Linked DNA regions of Homo sapiens: region 1 is linked to region 2. The links are contacts of gene promoters, found by promoter capture Hi-C in human tissues and cell types (Jung and others, 2019). All regions are on one chromosome and are shown on one strand. Each heading gives the region's core, a stretch centred on a gene start or on the middle of the fragment in contact. The rest is flanking DNA. Distances are from core to core; before and after follow the strand shown. Region 1 holds the start of CIROP (ciliated left-right organizer metallopeptidase). Region 2 holds the start of NGDN (neuroguidin).

Region 1 (4,600 bases), core at 1,725-4,224, 370 kb after region 2:
AGGCAACTACAAAGCAAAGAATACCTCTGTCCCCCACTTCCCCTATTATGGTGACACCAGTTTTCTAGTTCGGTGAAGGTTCCAAGGTTTTCTACTCAGAAAGGCACAAGAAATAGGATGAGGGATGGAAAGGATTAGGAAAGAGTTCCCAGCCACACACAGTGGCTCACACCTGTAATCTCAGCACTTGGGGAGGCTGAAGCAGGAGGATCACTTGAGGCCAGGAGTTTGAGACCAGCCTCGACAACATAGAGAGGCTCCATCTCTACAAAACAAACAAACAAAAAACAAGGAAAGAGTTTCATCATGGATAAGGCAGGCTCCTCTTTGGAAAGGTCAGCTGAGGCCTCAGAATAACACTTCCCCTCCCCCAGCACTCTGCCTCTGGCACCTCTGGAAGAGGGTGGTTCATATCCAACCTCCTGGCAGGGAACTGTAGACTGAGTCAACAACATTCAAATCTTGAAAAAATAAGCAAGAGTAGTGGGGGGCATAGGTGAAAAATAGTAAAGAGAGGAAAGCCAGAAACAGTGAGCCAGGGAACAAGGGGACGGAAGACAGGATCCAGGCTGTATCTACGGAGAGACACAGAAGGGAGATGCTGCTGCTGCTGCTGCTGCTGCTGCTGCTGCCGCCACTAGTCCTCAGGGTTGCTGCAAGCCGATGTCTACATGATGAGACACAGAAGTCTGTGAGCCTTCTCAGGCCCCCTTTCTCCCAACTCCCCTCAAAATCTCGCTCTTCCTCCCTCACCCTCCCTAGCTCCCGTGATCCTCAACCCCTACGAATCCAAAGCTGCTATCTAGGAGATCATATATCAGATGGAGCTTGGGATCCTGAGGGAGAAGGGATGAGAGGGGGATCCCGAGCCCTGGCCGCAGTGAGAGAGGCCACTCAGCGAATCCAGGCTGTTCTAGCAGGTGAGTGAGGGAACAGAGGTGTCAGGGAGGGTTGAGGAGCAGAGAGGTCCAGGGGAGGAAGATCAGCCCAGAAAGAGAACTGGAATTCCAAGATATGGGAGAAACTGACTTCTTATCAAGTCCCTCCAGTGCAAGGACCCCTGCTTCTGAGTCGAGACCCTGCACAGTATTGCCACGCTGTCTGGGGAGACCCAGATAGCCCAAACTACCACAGGTGAGTTCACGTCGTTGACAATGTATGTAATTCTTTTTCAGGGATACCTAGAAATGTCCTCAGCTCACCTACAGATCTTCATTCTTATAGGTGCAGCCTCTTGAACCCAGGATACAAAGGAGAGAGTTGCCTGGGGGCAAAGGTGAGATTGAGTCAACAACACTGAAATCTTGAAAAAATAAGGGTGGTGGGGGGATACGCAGAGAGATAGTAAAGAGAGGAAAACCAGAAATAAGTACACCAGGGAAGAAGGGGACGGAAGACAGGATCCTGAGCAGGCTCACCTCTCAGTCTCAGGGATCTGGAGATCTGCAGCCTGCCATGACCATTCCAAGACCACCACCATCAGAGTTACTTAGTGTGCTTAACGATGTAGATTCTTGAGCTCCTCTCCCTGCTAAAATTTATTAAATCAGAGACTGGGGGTGAAGGGGCAGAACTCTATTCTAGCCAGCTGCCTAGATAACACAAAGACAGACCAAAGAGATTCATTCTCCCCTACTCCTCATACCCAATTTCCTACTGTTCCAGCCCCTCTGCTAATGCAACATTTCACTCCCTGCCAGATTCCTGACACCCATCTTCGCGGTTATGCCTTGTGGCCGGAGCAGGGTCCCCCACAACTGGTCCAGCCAGATGGGCCTGGGGTCCAAAACACTGATTTTCTCCTGTATGTGCGAGTTGCTCACACTTCCAAGTGCCACCAAGAGGTGAAGTTCAAATCAAATTTCCTTTCCCTGCTGTCTCTCTCAATCTTAAATCTCATGAGGAGGGTTAGGGAGCATAAAAGCAGTTTTGTTTTGTTTTGTTTTGTTTTATTTTGCTTTTGTTTTCAGACAGTCTCACTCTGTTGCCCAGGCTGGAGTACAGCGGCCCAATCACAGCTCACCGCAGCCTTGACCTCCTGGGCTCAGGTGATCCTCCCATCTCAGCCTCCTGAGTAGCTAGGATTACAGGCATGCACCACCATGTCCGGCTAATTTTTTGTATTTTTTTTTGTAGAGACGGGGTTTTGTCATGTTGCCCAGGCTGTGTCTCAAACTCTTGGGCTCAAGCAATCTGCCCACCTTGGCTTCCCAAAGTATCAGGATTACAGGCGTGAGCCACCATGCCCAGCCAAAAGCAGTTTTTATTAAGTTGTGCTTATTTGGGATAACTTAGGGAATGCTAGTAACGTTTGGGTAAAGGCTACCCCCACCCACAGCCATCCCTTGATACCACTCCTGCAGAGTTCTGCAGAGTCCCCTGGTCCTCCATTTTCAGAGGACTTCTTCTACTTGTGCTACCCTATTTTTCTCCTTTCTGGCCCTACCCTGTCCTGGCCCATCCACAGCCCTCTGTCATAGCCTATGCTGCCTGCTGCCAGCTGGACTCAGAAGACAGGCCCCTCGCTGGTACCATTGTCTACTGTGCCCAACATCTCACCAGCCCCAGCCTCAGCCACAGTGACATCGTCATGGTGACTGCTGCATGATGAATAGGGAGAAGCAAACAGGTTGCAGGGTAGGGGGCCAGGTTACTCAGTTTCCCATTAAGTCAAAGAACCCACAGAGGATGGAATAGAAGGTGCCTCAAACTCTAGGAAGAGCTGATTGGGCAGAGGGGTTATAGAGTGTTTGGTCAATCCTGCTGCAAATTCGGCCCCCTTACTGGGCTGTCATTTGTCCTTAGGCCACATTACATGAATTGCTCCATGCCTTGGGTTTCTCTGGACAGCTCTTCAAGAAATGGCGAGACTGCCCCTCAGGATTCAGTGGTAAATGAGAGGAATGAGGTTAAGGACTTTCCACCATCAACCAGAGGAAATTCACTATCTCATAACGTCCTTCCTTCTAATTTTACTTCACCCTTCCTAAGTTTTCCTCTCCTCGTACTGCCTTCTTCCCTTTCTGCAGTTAGAGAGAACTGTTCTACAAGGCAACTAGTGACAAGGCAAGATGAGTGGGGACAACTGCTTCTCACCACCCCAGCTGTTAGCCTCAGCCTGGCCAAACACTTGGGAGTGTCGGGGGCTTCCCTGGGTGTTCCCTTGGAAGAAGAGGTGAGAATGAGAACACCTTGGGGTGATGGAAGAAAGGAGTAGCCAGCTAACAACCAGCCATCTGCCACCTCCTCCAGGAGGGCCTTCTGTCCTCGCACTGGGAGGCCAGACTACTCCAGGGTTCTTTAATGACTGCTACCTTTGATGGAGCCCAGCGCACTCGACTCGACCCAATCACCCTCGCTGCCTTCAAAGACTCAGGCTGGTACCAGGTCAACCACAGCGCTGCAGAGGAGCTGTTGTGGGGCCAGGGTGAGGAATAAGGGAGACCTGCAGAGAGGCACTCATGACCCAAGTCAGCTCTGGGGGAAGTGGGAGGCTGGAGGGGTGTCTGTTGCTGATGTATAATCGAAGCTGTGAGGATAGCTGGTGCTGAAGGATGTTTGGGCTTCATTTGCTGAGGGCTCTCTTTCCTTCTCATCTGTCAAGCAGGATCTGGCCCAGAATTTGGCTTGGTGACCACATGTGGGACTGGCTCCTCAGACTTCTTCTGTACTGGCAGGTGTGTGTGCTGAGTGGTTAGGGGACTGTATGGCTGCCAGTGATTCTAGTGTCACTCTACCATCCATTCCACACAGTGGGCTGGGCTGCCACTACCTGCACCTGGACAAGGGAAGCTGCTCCTCAGACCCCATGCTGGAAGGCTGCCGCATGTACAAGCCCTTAGCCAATGGGGTGAGTAGATAAGAGAGCAGACAATGAAACTGAGTGGGTCTGGAAGGCAGTCAACTTCAAAGGCATCAGAACAAACACTATTCTACTTCTGACCTGCCCTTCAGAGTGAATGCTGGAAGAAGGAAAACGGATTCCCTGCTGGGGTGGATAATCCCCATGGGGAGATCTACCATCCCCAGAGCCGTTGCTTCTTTGCCAACCTCACTTCACAGCTGCTCCCTGGGGATAAGCCCAGGCATCCTTCTCTTACCCCACACCTCAAGGAAGCAGAGCTCATGGGCCGCTGCTACTTACATCAATGCACAGGGAGGGGAGCTTACAAGGTGCAGGTGGAGGGCTCGCCTTGGGTCCCATGCCTTCCTGGAAAGGTTATACAGGTGGGTACCATAAGAGTAGTAGTTGCAGCATACTGGCAAAAAGAAGTCGGGAAATACTTGTATGGTGGTACTGTCCAACCTGTTTTGATGTGCATACAGTTTTCCTAAGTACCCACTGAGTCCATGACTCTGATCTAGAATATACATTTTCCTTAGAAGGAAGACTTGAACAGGTAAGGCAAAACCATATCCTGCTACCTATTTCCTTGCAGATACCTGGGTACTATGGTCTTCTCTTCTGTCCCCGGGGTCGGCTGTGTCAGACTAATGAAGATATCAATGCTGTTACTTCCCCACCTGTGAGTCTTTCAACCCCAGATCCACTATTCCAGCTCTCTTTAGAATTAGCTGGGCCTCCAGGACACTCTCTGGG
Region 2 (4,161 bases), core at 1,062-3,561:
TCACCACATTGCCCAGGCTGGTCTCAAACCCATGGGCTCAAGCAATCCTCCCACTCTGGCCTCCCAAAGTGTTGGGATTACAGGCGCATATTTCAATTTTAAGATGCACATGGTTTTCATATTTTAACATCTCTGAAATCAGGATGCATGTTTCAGTCACTGGCATCTTGGTATTATGTCATAAGCAATTTTTTTTTTTTTTTTGAGACAGGGTCTTGCTCTGTCACCCAGGCTGAATGCAGTGGCACAATCACAGCTTACTGCAGCCTCAACCTCCCAGGCTTAAGCAATCCTCTGGCCTCAGCCTCCTGAGTGGCTAGGACTACAGGCACATGCCATCATGCCCGGCTAATTTTTAACTTTTGTAGGGTCTCACTATGTTACCCAGGTTGGTCCCGAACTCCTGAGCTCAAGCGATCCTCCAGCCTCAGCCTCCTGAAGTGCTGGAATTACAGGCATGAGCCACCATGCCCGGCCTGTCACATTTTTTCTTAATATATACAATAAGTGATATGTCCCAATTAATAAGTGTCTTAGATTAGATGAAATCTGAAAGTAACTCCTCAGTTGGCCTACAGTAATCTTCAGAGTGACTTTTCCAGTCTTATTTCCTACCCCCAACACACATAACACAGAAAGTACATCCTATCACAAAAATGACTTACTCCTTTCCCTTATCACCATACTTTCAGGCCTTTGTGCCTTTGCACATGTTCCTTCTTTCTGTCCCTCCCATTTATTCCTCAAAATCCTATCACCTCCTCTGGGAAGCCTGTCCTGAATCCCTCTGCTCTTCTGGCAGTTAATTAATCCCTCTCTTTGGCTGGAGACTCATAACTCTGTAATGTGACTGCTACTATTAATACTTACATCTATTGCTTTGCTTTGTCTTCCCTCTAGACTTCAGCACAGAAACTGGATCATATTTATGTTTGAAGCTCGAGCACTTAGGATATATAAGACACAATAAACATACAATGAAAGAACTACTGAGAACATTAAGTCAGGGGATGCTTACTGTTTGAGTACATCTTACCTTTTCTGTAGGATAGGCACCAGCTTGAACTTTTTGTGTCAGTGATTTCACTTGTGCAGTTACAGCCATCACCTGAAATTAGCCCAAATAAAACAAGTGATTAGATTATATCAAATTATGTCTGCAAACTGTGAAGAGCAAAAGCTAAACAATGCCACCTAAAAATTATCTGAAACACTGTCTAAAGTATAGTACTATCTTCTCACTTCTCGGAAAGCATAGGAGAGATGGTTCTTCAAAAAGTTTAAAAAAAAAAAAACTTTCCACTTCTTAAAGAAGAGACCATCTTTTACTGAACCACAGGGAGGAGAAAAGGACTGAGAGAGTAGTGACTGAAGCACTGTAATTTTGTTTGTACTAGTTGAACTTACAATGCATAGAACTACATAACTCCCCGACTTATGACTTAATTTCCACTTTACGAGGGTGTAAAAGAAATATGCATTCGGTAGAAACCGTCCTTTTCTCGTGATGCTGGGCAGCGGCATCAAGCCTAAATTTCGACTTATGAGGTTTTCGAATTACAATGGGTTTATCAGGCCATAACCTCCATCGTTAAGTCGAGAAGCATCTGTATATAAGTGTGTATTACCTGGGCACCCAAAGGGCAAGTCATGTTACCATTCCAAGCACTGGTTTCCTTAGCTATATGAATAAAGGAAAACTATTCATATAATTTCTTTTTGGAGTTTCTTGTATTCCCTTGGGTGCAGAATCAATTACTTAGAATTCTGGCGTGAAAAGGTTTTGATTACATCATTTTACTCTAAGGTTTTTGGAAGCATTCACGTATCTCAATCACCAAAGTTTTGAGGTGAAGTACACAAACTCAAAGCCAATCCGTGACTAATTTATTCCAGAGGCGACACTACTCACTTGCTCCTGGAGATTTTTCAGAAGTGTCACGGCACTTGGCAGGTCGGACTCCAGCACCCCCTACAGAAGGGAGAGGAGGCGTAAAGAAAAGTCATTCTTTCCTCAGGATTATAGGAAAGTGGAACGTCTAGGGTGGGAAACTGCCCTCTCTCCGTCAGACACCCAGACTCGGGGCCTTCACACTCGGGTTCACAGACTCGCCTTAAAGCCAGCCCCTTGGGTTACCGGACAGGAACGGTAACTCTAGGGAGGCCGCCTCCCTGAAGCAACTTTCATCACCACCCTTCCCTGGTACCAACAGTTTGCCTCCAGCCGCTGAAGGCAAAGGACAACTCCACAATAGCTACGCGAGGAAGAAACCACACCAAACTCACCAGCGCCGCCATCTTCGCAAAGCCCACCCCTTCCGGTGTCGTACTTCCTGAGCGCTAAGGGCGACTTGATAGATTTGATAGACAACTGCCGCTTGCAAATCTAAGCCAATACGAATAAGGGCTTTCTCACTTCCGCCCCCAACAGGATAAACGAGAGGAGGAGTCTGATCTGGCCAATGGAATAAAGGAACTGGCTAAATTCGTCAGACTCAGAAAGAGTCGTCAGGACGAAAAAAAGCACTTGGCAAAGAGCGTGTGATTGGTAGACTGAGTAAAATGATTGACGGCAAGCCAATAAGAGACAGTCAAATAATTGATTGACAGTTGGAAGGACCAATAGAAAAAAGGAATTAGCAGAGCGAACTTAGCGCGTATTGGCTCCCGTCTGCCGCAGCACCCAGAGTCTTTTTTCACGGCACTTTTCTTGTAGTGCGTGAACCGGCCGCTAGGTGATGGGCCTTGGCTTGGCTTTGCGGTGTCGACATTGCAGAGCCGCCATTGCTGGCTGCTCATCCAACGGCCACCGCGCCAAATGCCTTACAGACCCGGTGGCCCTGGAATCGATTCTGTAACACTACTCCTTGTGTGACCGTGGACAAGTCACTCGGTCTCTGAGCCTTCTTCATCTGTAAATAAGAGAGCGAGGCTAGAGAAGCCCAGAGCCAGAGTTTAGAAACCGAGTGCGAGGACACCTGCCCTCTTGGTGTGCACTGTGGAGCGCTGAGAAACGGCTCCAATAACGCCCCGACACTCTTCGCTCCTACCAGTTTGGGGACATGAAAAGAATACGTTTTACAAATTGGGGAACGGTTCATATTTACATGACTTACCGCGGTCACACAGGTCTTCAGCAGAACTTGGTTCAAACTCTGGCAGTGCATGTTTCAGTATAACCTGCCTCATCATTACCCAGTGCTTTCAGATGTGTTCTCTCACTCTGGTTTTTCACAAGCTGGTGAAGTAGGTTGGACGGATACTCATTGTTCCCATCCCATGCCTTAGGAAATAAAGCACCGAAAGGGTGAATGATAGTGTATAATTTTTTGTTCACAACTCGTCCAACAGAGCTGGGTCTAGAAATCAGATCTTACCGACTTGAAGCTGTCTTTTGGAATTAAGAATAACACCTGTATCTGGGCAGGTGAGGTAAGGAAATCCTGGTATCTAGATCTTGCTGGATTCAAGAAGGCAGGAGGGTGTTCAGTCCCCACTCCTCTAACATTTAATTTGCTGCTTCAGGCCCACTGTGGAAGCTCAGGATGCTGTTGCAGCATACTTAGTCAATTATCCAGTAGCTTTTGTAATGTTTTATCAAGATTTGTATTATGAAAAGTTTCTATTTCTACATAAATTTTCGGACCTGTCTAATTAGATCAGCAATAAACTTTTCCTTTTCGGGGAATTTGAAATTTAGTTTGTTCATATGCTTTATGATAGCAATGAGAAAACAAATTGCACTGCCATATTTTGGGTTTTTTTGAGACCGAGTCTCGCTCTGTTGCCCAAGCTGGAGTGCAGTGGCGCGATCTCGGCTCACTGCAACCTCCGCCTCCCGGGTTCAAGCGATTCTCCTGTCTCGCCCTCCCGAGTAGCTGGGACTACAGGCACTTGCCACCACGCCCGGCTGATTTTTTTTTTTTTTTTTTTTTTTTTAGTAGAGACAGGGTTTCACCATGTTAGCTAGGATGGTCTCGATCTCCTGACCTCATGATCCACCCGCCTCAGCCTCCCAAAGTGCTGGGATTACAGGCGTAAGCCACCGCGCCCGGCCTTTTTTTTTTTTTTTTTTTTTGAGCGGAGTCTCATACTGTTGCCCAAGCTGGAGTGCAGTGCCGCGATCTTGGCTCACTGCAACCTCTGCCTCCCTGTTCAAGC

Evidence for each region. Contacts are between HindIII fragments. The study calls those that stand out against the background at their distance.
Region 1: a contact is called between a fragment that was not itself captured here and the fragment with the promoter of NGDN in region 2, in 1 of the 25 tissues and cell types used here (spleen).

What each region holds. Positions count from the first base shown.
Region 1 is chr14:23,100,919-23,105,518 of GRCh38, reverse strand. It overlaps CIROP (ciliated left-right organizer metallopeptidase), which reads left to right and starts at 530. Exons shown (of 16, transcript NM_001354640.2): 1 at 530-920; 2 at 1,050-1,134; 3 at 1,225-1,276; 4 at 1,701-1,844; 5 at 1,971-2,048; 6 at 2,137-2,232; 7 at 2,468-2,593; 8 at 2,806-2,890; 9 at 3,030-3,175; 10 at 3,253-3,427; 11 at 3,608-3,677; 12 at 3,754-3,850; 13 at 3,955-4,227; 14 at 4,440-4,600. The coding sequence starts at 599. The HindIII fragment of the contact is 8,875 bases long and covers 1-4,600 here.
Region 2 is chr14:23,467,853-23,472,013 of GRCh38, reverse strand. It overlaps NGDN (neuroguidin), which reads right to left and starts at 2,311. Exons shown (of 11, transcript NM_001042635.2): 1 at 2,287-2,311; 2 at 1,913-1,972; 3 at 1,037-1,108. The coding sequence starts at 2,298. RefSeq lists an enhancer at 1,608-2,548 and a silencer at 2,635-2,684. The HindIII fragment of the contact is 24,550 bases long and covers 1-4,161 here.